2 separate regions of the Homo sapiens genome follow, and region 1 is linked to region 2. The links are contacts of gene promoters, found by promoter capture Hi-C in blood cells and fetal thymus (Javierre and others, 2016). All regions are on one chromosome and are shown on one strand. Each heading gives the region's core, a stretch centred on a gene start or on the middle of the fragment in contact. The rest is flanking DNA. Distances are from core to core; before and after follow the strand shown. Region 1 overlaps HDAC3 (histone deacetylase 3). Region 2 holds the start of CYSTM1 (cysteine rich transmembrane module containing 1).

Region 1 (4,513 bases), core at 1,847-4,346, 1.5 Mb after region 2:
CAACATGGTGAAACCCCGTCTCTACTAAAAATACTAAAGTTAGCCGGGTGTGGTGGCACATGCCTGTAATCTCAGCTACTGAGGAGGCTGAGGCAGGAGAATCGCTTGAACCTGGGAGGCGGAGGTTGCAGTGAGCCGGGATTAGCCACTGCACTCCAGCCTGGCAACAGAGTGAGACTCCATCTCAAAAAAAAAAAAGAAAGAAAAGAAAAAGTATTCTCTGGGACACAGAGAATTGAGAAAGTCATCAAAGAGAAGCTGAGGCACTAAGCCAGGAAAGGCCTTATCTGCATGGTGAGCAATGTCTCAGTTACTTCTAAGTGCACAGGGTTAAAGGTGTGGAGTCAGAGAATCAGGTTGAATCTCAGCCCTGATCTTTAACTAGCCATGTGACCTTCAGAAAGTTACTTAAGTCTCGCCGGGGGCGGTGGCTCACACCTGTAGCCTGTAATCCTAGCACTTTGGGAGGCCGAGGCAGGCAGATCACCTGAGGTCAGGAGTTCGAGACCAGCCTGACTAACATGGAGAAACCCCATCTCTTCTAAAAATACAAAAAAAATTAGCCAGGCGTGGAGGCTCATGCCTGTAATCCAGCTACTTGGGAGGCTAAGGCAGGAGAATCGCTTGAACCCGGGAGGCAGAGGTTGTGGTGAGCTGAGATCATGCCATTGCACTCCAGCCTGGGCAAAAAGAGCGAAACTCCGTCTCAAAAAAAAGAAAGAAAGAAAGTTACTTAGACTCTCTGAGCCTTAGATTCCTCCCGTGTTAATCTGAAAATAAGAGCCATCAGAGTTGTCTGATGGCAACAGAATGATCATATATATGTTGTAATAGATAGCACTTAGTAGTGTCTGGTGCTTGGCAAACCTACAAAAAGTGGTAACTCTTCCTATTTCTACTCTGCAAGTCATATGCAAGCTGGAGCTATAGGCATCAAAGAAGAACAGAAACTCAGTGGGTGGCCTGACAGAGAGGTAGGGCTTAGGAACAGGAAGAGGCCTGAGGCTTCTGCTGGCTGTGACAGGGCTTGGTATTATTATAATGCAGAGACTAGGTCCAGATGCCAGCCTGGAGCTATTGATAAAAAACCCAAAAGGAAGAACTTAAAAACAGGTTTTACCAAACCAAACCAGACAATGAAAAGCAATTTCCAATAGTCCTGGAAGCCCTGAAGCCAGACACTTCCAGATGTTCAGACACTTCCTCACTCAGAAGGGATCGGGGGATATCCTTGGAGGAAGAGAGTTGCAGAGATCCCCAAGAGTCAGAGCAGTAAAGCCCAGGTCCAGAGGAGAGATTCGGAGGCCTGAATTCTAAGACAGAAGCAGATTCTAGAAGGGGCTGAGAAGCCCATCAGGCTCTGCAGCAGAGCCGGCTCAAACCTCTAACCCTGCGTGGGAGCAAGACAGCGTGTCCCACAAGTGTCCAGCTGTGGTTATCCCTCAGTCATGTAAGGAAATCTGTTCCCCATTAAGTGCATCTGTTTCTGCACTTCTTGGTTCTGTTGTCTTTCCCTTTCATTTTTCAGCAAAGTTTTGGGATTAAAAAAAAATTCCATCCTATCCTTTTTCCCCCCTAATTCATTCCATCTACAAATATTTTGTATGTATCTCAGAAAGATAAAGACTTTTAAAAAAAAAAAAAAAACATAACCACAATGCAATTATCCCACCCGAAAAAATTAACAGAGCAAAGAAATCAAAGAGCCTTAGAGAGTATTACGCAGGCAGTGACCTGTCCAGCTCAAGACCTGGAAAGACTGAGAAAAATGCTGGCAAGACTATAGGGTGCTACAGACTTTCTGGACGGCAATTTGGCAGCAAATATAAAAAATTTTAGGCCAGGCTCAGTGGCTCACGCCTATAATCCCAGCACTTTGGAAGGCTGGGGCAGGAGGACATTTGAGCCCAGGAGTTTGAGACCAGCCTGGGCAACAAGGCAAGACTCCGTCTCTACCAAAAAAAAAAAAAAAAAAAAAAAAAAAAAAAAAAATTAGCCAGGTGTCGTGGTGCACACCTATGATTCCAGCTACTCGAGGGGCTGAGGCAGGAGGATCGCTTGAACCCAGGAGTTCAAGATTGCAGTGAGCTATAATCATGCCACTGTACTCCAGCCTGGGTGACAGAATGAGACCCTGTCTCAAAAAAAAAAAAAAAAAAAAAATTAATGCACACAGCCTTTGACCTAGCAGCAACCATTCTACTATCTAACCCACTCAAACAAGAATGCAAAGATGTATAATGTAAGGGGGTTCATTGCCACATTATTATTGTAATACCAAAAAAATGGAAAATAATCTATCCACATAGTAAATTATTATACAGCTGATAAAATACTGAAGCAGATCTATATTAGCTAGCTGAAAACAGCTATATGATGTAAAGCAGCATACGTAGAATGACCCTATTTGTATTTACGAAAAACCAAAAACCACACAAACTGTAAATGAGTGTATATGTGTTTGTTTATATGTACATACAGAATAGTATATTTGCAATCTATAGAAAAAGGTCTATCCAAAACAATAAAAACTATTAACAGTGGTTACTCCTGTGGAATAGGTCTGGGATTGTGTGAACGCCAACACCATATTTTGGTGCTGTTTTAAAATTTTGCAATAAATACGTGTTACTTTTGTCATTAAAAATAACAAAGAAAAGAGTGAGGAAATTGTAGCAGACTAAAGGAGGTAAGCCAGAGGCAATTAAACTAATACCTTCCCATTTACTTTTTCCCTTTTAAACCTCCCCAGCAAGCCTATTGAAAGTAGGCTGAAGTCCCTGCTCCCAGACCTGCTATAGTTCTCCTCAGGACCCCTCTCCTCTGCATCAGCCTCATCAGTCCTGTCATAGGTCAGGAGGTCTGCAGGCACGTCATGAATCTGGACACTAGGTGCATGGTTCAGCATCTTCAGGTTTTCAAAGATTGTCTGGCGGATCTGGTCCAGATACTGGTTGGAAATGAGGAATACAGAGTGAGCAGTTTCCAGAGATTCCCAGGACATGGAATCTCCTAGCTGCCTTTTACCCCTACCATACTGGTTTTCATCTCAGTGGTACCTCTAGTTCAGGTCCCCCAACTGATAGCTCTCCCTCCCCACCAACCCCAACTGCCTCTACTTTAAACTGGACTGCCTCCTAGTCAATAACAGTGACTGTGATGGCTTAGAACTTCCTTCTCTTTGGTTTTTCCTACTTCCCACATCTTTGACCTCTCCTGGGCTCCACCTTTCAGGAGAAGTTTGTGCTCAGCTTTTCTGAGCTGCTGACCTGGCGTGAGTTCTGATTCTCGATGCGGGTGCTGACATCTGGATGAAGTGTGAAGTCTGGGGCAAAGTACTCGAAGTATTCTTGGGGAGGAGAGGAGAAAGTATGGCTCAGACTGAGAAAGGCAGCTAACAAGACTTCCCAATCTTTTTCCTTCCCATCCAGAGCACCTACATAATAGCTGCCCAATCTCTTCCCTGCTCTGAGCCCAGGGGTTTAGTCTGCAGAGCTCTGAGAGTGTAAAATTTCCCATGTGCCTTCAAACCAGGTCATTCTGGAATCTGGTGAGAATGGCCTTCCTGTTATGGGGGTGTTGTGGGGTGGTCCTTACCACTATAGGGAAGCTCCTCACTAATGGCCTCTTCTACCAGCAGCGATGTCTCATATGTCCTGAAACCAACCAGCAGAGGGGAGCAGGCTGACCAAGTGGGCTGAAGGACCCATGTGGCCATATCTGAGGGACACCCTAGCTCACACTGGACAACAGGGGAGGAAATCAGGAGAGTGCTCACCAGCAGCGGGCAACATTTCGGACAGTATAACCACCACCACCCAGCACGAGTAGAGGGATATTGAAGCTCTTGACATATTCAACGCATTCCCTGTTAAAAGGAACCAGAGGAAGATGTGGAGGAGGTTATCAAAAGACAAGGTAAATACCTTTAGGTATTGCCTGAAAGGAGCACAAGAAAACTATAAATGTTCTAAATCTTTATCTTGATAGTGAAATTCATTATGTTATACCCTTAAGATTTGGGTATACTTTATATGCTGTGTCTCAATAAAAATTTTAAAATAAAGCACAGTCCCCCCTCTGTTCTGCTCAACACCCTCCCTGGCACCCTGCCTGCTAATCAACTATTCTCATCAACCCAAGTTCTGTCAATTCTAGCCTTGAAAATATAACTCACGCCCGGCGCGGTGCTCACGCCTTTGTAGTAGTCCCAGCTACTCAGGAGGCTGAGGCAGGAGAAATGCTTGAACCCAGGAGGCAGAGCTTGCACTGAGCCAAGATCGTGCCACTGCACTCCAGCCTGGGTGACAGAGCAAGACTCCATCTCAAAAAAGAAAAAAAAAAACATATATATGTGTGTGTGTGTGTGTATATATATATATATACACACACACACACACACACCTCTCAGATCATCTACTTCTCTCCATTGCCACCCCCTCCACCTTAGTCTGGGCACCTAACCAACACCATGGCTTCCTAACTGGTCTTTCTACTTCCATCTCCATCCCCC
Region 2 (4,292 bases), core at 1,334-3,833:
CCATGTTGCCTCCACAGTCCTTGGACAGTTCTCCCGAATGAACAAATATTGAAAATTCATTGTTACTTCTGTGACTAATGGACTTTCACAGCAAATATGCTTGGCCAGGACCTTGTACCCTGACATTTTTCTTTTATTTCCAGGAATGGAAACCCACACTGCTGTTGTGAAGACACCTGATGAAACTCCAGCAACTTCTACATCTGGCCTGCTGCTTAGTCCTGGGACCTGAGGTCAAAATCTTAGAAAAGAGCCATGTGAGATGCATTCCCTGGCCTCATCTCTGTTCTTGGATGCTGTCAGCAACACTCCTTGAGTTTTTACCCACATAATAACACTTTCCTCAGCATGGATGTGGAGGTGGGGGTGAGGAATGTTCTATTTTTCCTTCGATGGTTACGCCCTCACCCTACCAACTCAGTAAAAGGGGAGTGGTCAGGGAGCGTACTGAGAATGTGTCCTAGCATCTTTTCTTCCCTAGCACAGCCTTCATATGACCCAGCTGCCATGAGAAGCTTGCCTCCCTTCTAAGGGAATTACCCCTGCCTTCCACTCCATCCTCACCTTGCCCTGCCCAGATTAGAGGCACGGAGGCATGTACCACAGGCCTGAAAAACTGTCCAGCCAAAAAGCCTGACTGCCTTGAGTACTATCAGGGTGTAGTTATGGACGTGCCTGTTTCTGCTCTTCCCTCTGCATTAGTGCTCTGCAAAGGGTGGCTCTTACCCTCAGATGGTCCAGAGGTAGTTTGGGGTGTGCATGGATCACCTTCACTCTTCAGAGGCAAACAGACAATGCTGCTCTTCTCCAACAGCCTCTGAAGGACACCACCTACTGACTGGTTCTGAGATGTTTGCTGCCCCAGAGTCTCCCACCTGCTTCTTCCTCCCCCTCAGTCCTTTTTTGTAGCCTCTCAGCCTCCCTTCTCTTAATGCTCTTAGCACCCTTTCCTGGGTCTCTATTTACCCTGCCCTCCCTTTCAGCAACTCCTTCCCAAACCACTGCATACTTCTCCTTTCTTTCCAATCCCTCCTCCCTTCCCAGCACTTTCGCCCTCCATTGAATCCCTCAAGCCTCATTCTGGCCCCACTCCTCCCCTCACCCTCTATCCCTGCCCTCCTCAGATCTGCCAAACACCTCAGGCCTGGCTGCCTCTGTCCTGTTCCTACCAACCTTCTGACCATGCCTCTGTGCTCCTTGGGACCTGGGCTCACATTTTCAATCTCTTCTCTCCTATTAGTACAGCTCTGTCTAGAGCCATGGTTCTTCTCTACCTTTCACAGCTGTCTTCTTTCCCACTTATATGAGTTTCTTTAAGTGTGAAAATTAAAAAGTGCCACTTAAATACAATGATTAAGTCATAATAAACAGTACAAGTTGTACTTATGTGAGACATACCACCCATACACGTTTGATCTTCGAGAACCACATCTCAATCTGCCCATGGCCCATTGCCTGACACTAAAAGATGCTCACAAGAAGTTGACTATAAACTAACTTCTTGGTCTAAGATCCTAAACTCTTGAGAGGGAAGGTTTCAATACATATGAAACCTTCTTGGCAGTGCAGGGATGAGGAGAGTAAAACTGAAATGAAAGTCAGCAAATAGTGAAGGTGTGAAATAGGCAGTGACTCTCACACTGAGACCTCCAGGGGATGTTAAATTTTCATTTCGAAGCTGATAGTCTTATCTGGGAAGCCTAGAGAGTAACAAAAGTTGTAGGCATATACTTATATTAGAGTGGTGCAAAAGTAATTGCTGTTTTTGCCATTTAAAAAAAAAATGCAAAAACCACAATTACTTTTGCACCAACCTAATAGCAAGCAAGGGGAGGAATATGGAGAGAAAATCAATTTCTAAAATGAAAAATAAAAAATTTTTTGCAAGTAGGACTTGCAAGCTCATTCTAGGCCTTGCTCTGGGAGCTTTTCGGTAACTTCTCTTCCTGTTGGAACAGAAGAAGGAAACCTTCAGGACAGAAGATTCTGTCCCCCTTCCCCCTCCTGATGTGAATGAAGTCTCATTACACTCTAAAGTACTGGCGGGACTACTTGTTGCAAGGTTTATGGGGAAAAGTAGCCAGAGAGCAATCCAGTTATCAGCCTCAGCCCCATTCCGCTCAGGTACAGCTCGGGAAGTAAGCCCCCAACCCTAGTTGGGTCTGGACCAACAAGACACGAGGAGGCAGCAGCCCACAGCCGACCCCTCATGCCACGCACTGAGCAGGGTTCCGCATGGACGCTGGTCTTGCCTCCCAGGCGCCTGAACTAGCGGAGTTGGGGTATCGGGTGGAGTCTCGGAGAACCAATCCAATCTGAGGGGGACGCCTGTGGGAGTCCTAAGTATCCAGCGCAGCTGGGAGGCCCACGTTGGGAAGTCGGAGACCGACCCCGCCTCCCGACTGCGCCGACTGCAAGAGAGCGCTTCCGGCGGCGCTTGGAGGCCGAGCAGTTGGGGGCGGGGCTCGTGCTGTGACGCAAGCCTCGCCTCGCCCCGCGCCGCGCGCGTTGCCAGGGTGATCAGGTGACTCCCGGTTCGCGGCGCTGGGAGCGGCCGTGACGTCAGGCGCCCGGCTGCTCCTCACTTGCTCTGAGACAGGTGCGGCAAGTCTACTGCGGGCTGGTCCGGGCTCCTCAGGTTCAGACCCGACCGTTATCCAGTCGGTTCGTGGAGAGGAGAGGTGAGGTGCAGCGGACCTGGCCCGACCCAGCTGGGACCAGGGCGGGGATCAGGCACGGACAGGGCGCGTCCCCGGGCTCCCTGGGGAGCGCCCTGAGAACTGGGGGGCACCCGGGCTGGCCTGGCTCAGGCAGGGGTTCGCGCAGCCCCTGGGGAGGGGCAGGGAGGCAGGGAAGCTGCTGCCGCCAGCTGGATCCCTCCCGGCGCCCCGCGGCTACTCTGGGGCTCCTGGTCGCCGCGCCGCGCGTCTCGGCGGTGGACTCACAGGGTCTCCGCGTCGCTGCGGTTCTCGTCTCACGAGGAGTCGGCGGGCTCGGAGCGGGGCTCGCCACACCCCGTCCCGGGGGACGTCCGCGGGAGGCTTCTGGATTTCTTCGCCTTGGGCTGCGATTTCTGAGGCGCTGCTCTGCCTATTCCGAGCTGGGCCAGCCGGGGGCAGGGGGCAGGTCGCGAGTCCCGCGGGTGGGAGCGGAGCGGAAGTAACTAGTGACTGGAAGTAACTAGGGAACGCAAAGCCGGCGCTCGGAGGCCGGGGTGTTCAGAGAAGGCGTTGCGGGGGAAAGGAATCCCGGCTGCTGTTGAGAGCCGTGGATTGGGATCTGAGCGGACCTGTTGGAGGAAGTGAAATCTGAGCGGGGTCCTGACGGGTGGGAACTAATCTCCCGGTAGCAGTGGAGGTTGCAGGGGGGAGAGAAGGAGGGGAGGACCCCTGGGGAAGGAGACCATGAGGAAAAACGATTTGGGGACTGACTGGACCGTCTGCTGGGCTGTTTTGGGGGAAAAAAAGTTTGGAGAATTAGGTTAGGGAGGATTAGGAAAGGACCCTTGAGTGCCCACCTGAGAGGCACTGTGTGCTGTGGGGAGCCATTGAAACGTTGGCTAGATTGGGGTAGGGGGAACACTGAGGAAGTTGGTGTGAGGGGAACACTGAGGAAGTTGGTGTGACATTCCGGCAAAAAGGTGACAACACTCTTCTCTGATGGGATTCCTCAAACCCTGCTTATGAAATACTTGTAACCGACAAGGGTAGGGGCTCAGGCAGCCAGGTGCCTTTTTCAGCCATTGTTGGCAAATTTTTAGAAATTAAACAAAAAATAATTGTACATATTTATAGATTTATACAATATGATACATGTAAACTTTGTGGAGTAACCATGTTAGCAGATTTTTAAAAATTCCTTTTTATGAAAGGACCCACCCAAGGGCAGCTCATTTTCGAGTATCTCATTTGACGGGATTTAATGACTGGTTGGGAGCTATGCCCCCCTCAGTATGCAGGGAGATTATAGCGTCCACAACACTTTGCCCTTCAGAGGTTTCAGAGTGACTTACAAACACCTTGTATCCCTAGGGTGAAACCCAAACCCCAAATGACTGGTAAGAGATTTAATAGGGGGAAGTTATTAAAGGAGAACCAGCATCCAAACATTCATGTGGGGCATTGGATTCGCTGAAAGGAGTCCCATACTATTTGTTGATTGTAGATCAAAGATCTCTAGACCTGGCCTGGTGCGGTGGCTCACACCTGTAATCCCAGCACTTTGGGAGGCCGAGGCGGACGGATCACGAGGTCAGGAGATCGAGACCATCCTGACTAACACGGTGAAACCCC

Evidence for each region. The method cuts DNA at HindIII sites, captures the fragments that hold promoters and counts their contacts. A CHiCAGO score of 5 or more calls a contact.
Region 1: a contact is called between a fragment that was not itself captured here and the fragment with the promoter of CYSTM1 in region 2, in 1 of 17 cell types (neutrophils). The highest score is 5.2, in neutrophils.

The regions. Positions count from the first base shown.
Region 1 is chr5:141,622,416-141,626,928 of GRCh38, forward strand. HDAC3 (histone deacetylase 3) reads right to left here. Exons shown (of 15, transcript NM_003883.4): 11 at 3,779-3,868; 12 at 3,598-3,656; 13 at 3,270-3,349; 14 at 2,793-2,950. Among named protein-coding and RNA genes, the nearest start is that of DIAPH1, 5.7 kb to the left of the region's middle. The HindIII fragment of the contact is 7,461 bases long and covers 1-4,513 here.
Region 2 is chr5:140,172,605-140,176,896 of GRCh38, forward strand. CYSTM1 (cysteine rich transmembrane module containing 1) reads left to right here and starts at 2,584. Exons shown (of 3, transcript NM_032412.4): 1 at 2,584-2,681. RefSeq lists an enhancer at 2,162-2,391 and a silencer at 2,682-2,971. The HindIII fragment of the contact is 7,638 bases long and covers 514-4,292 here.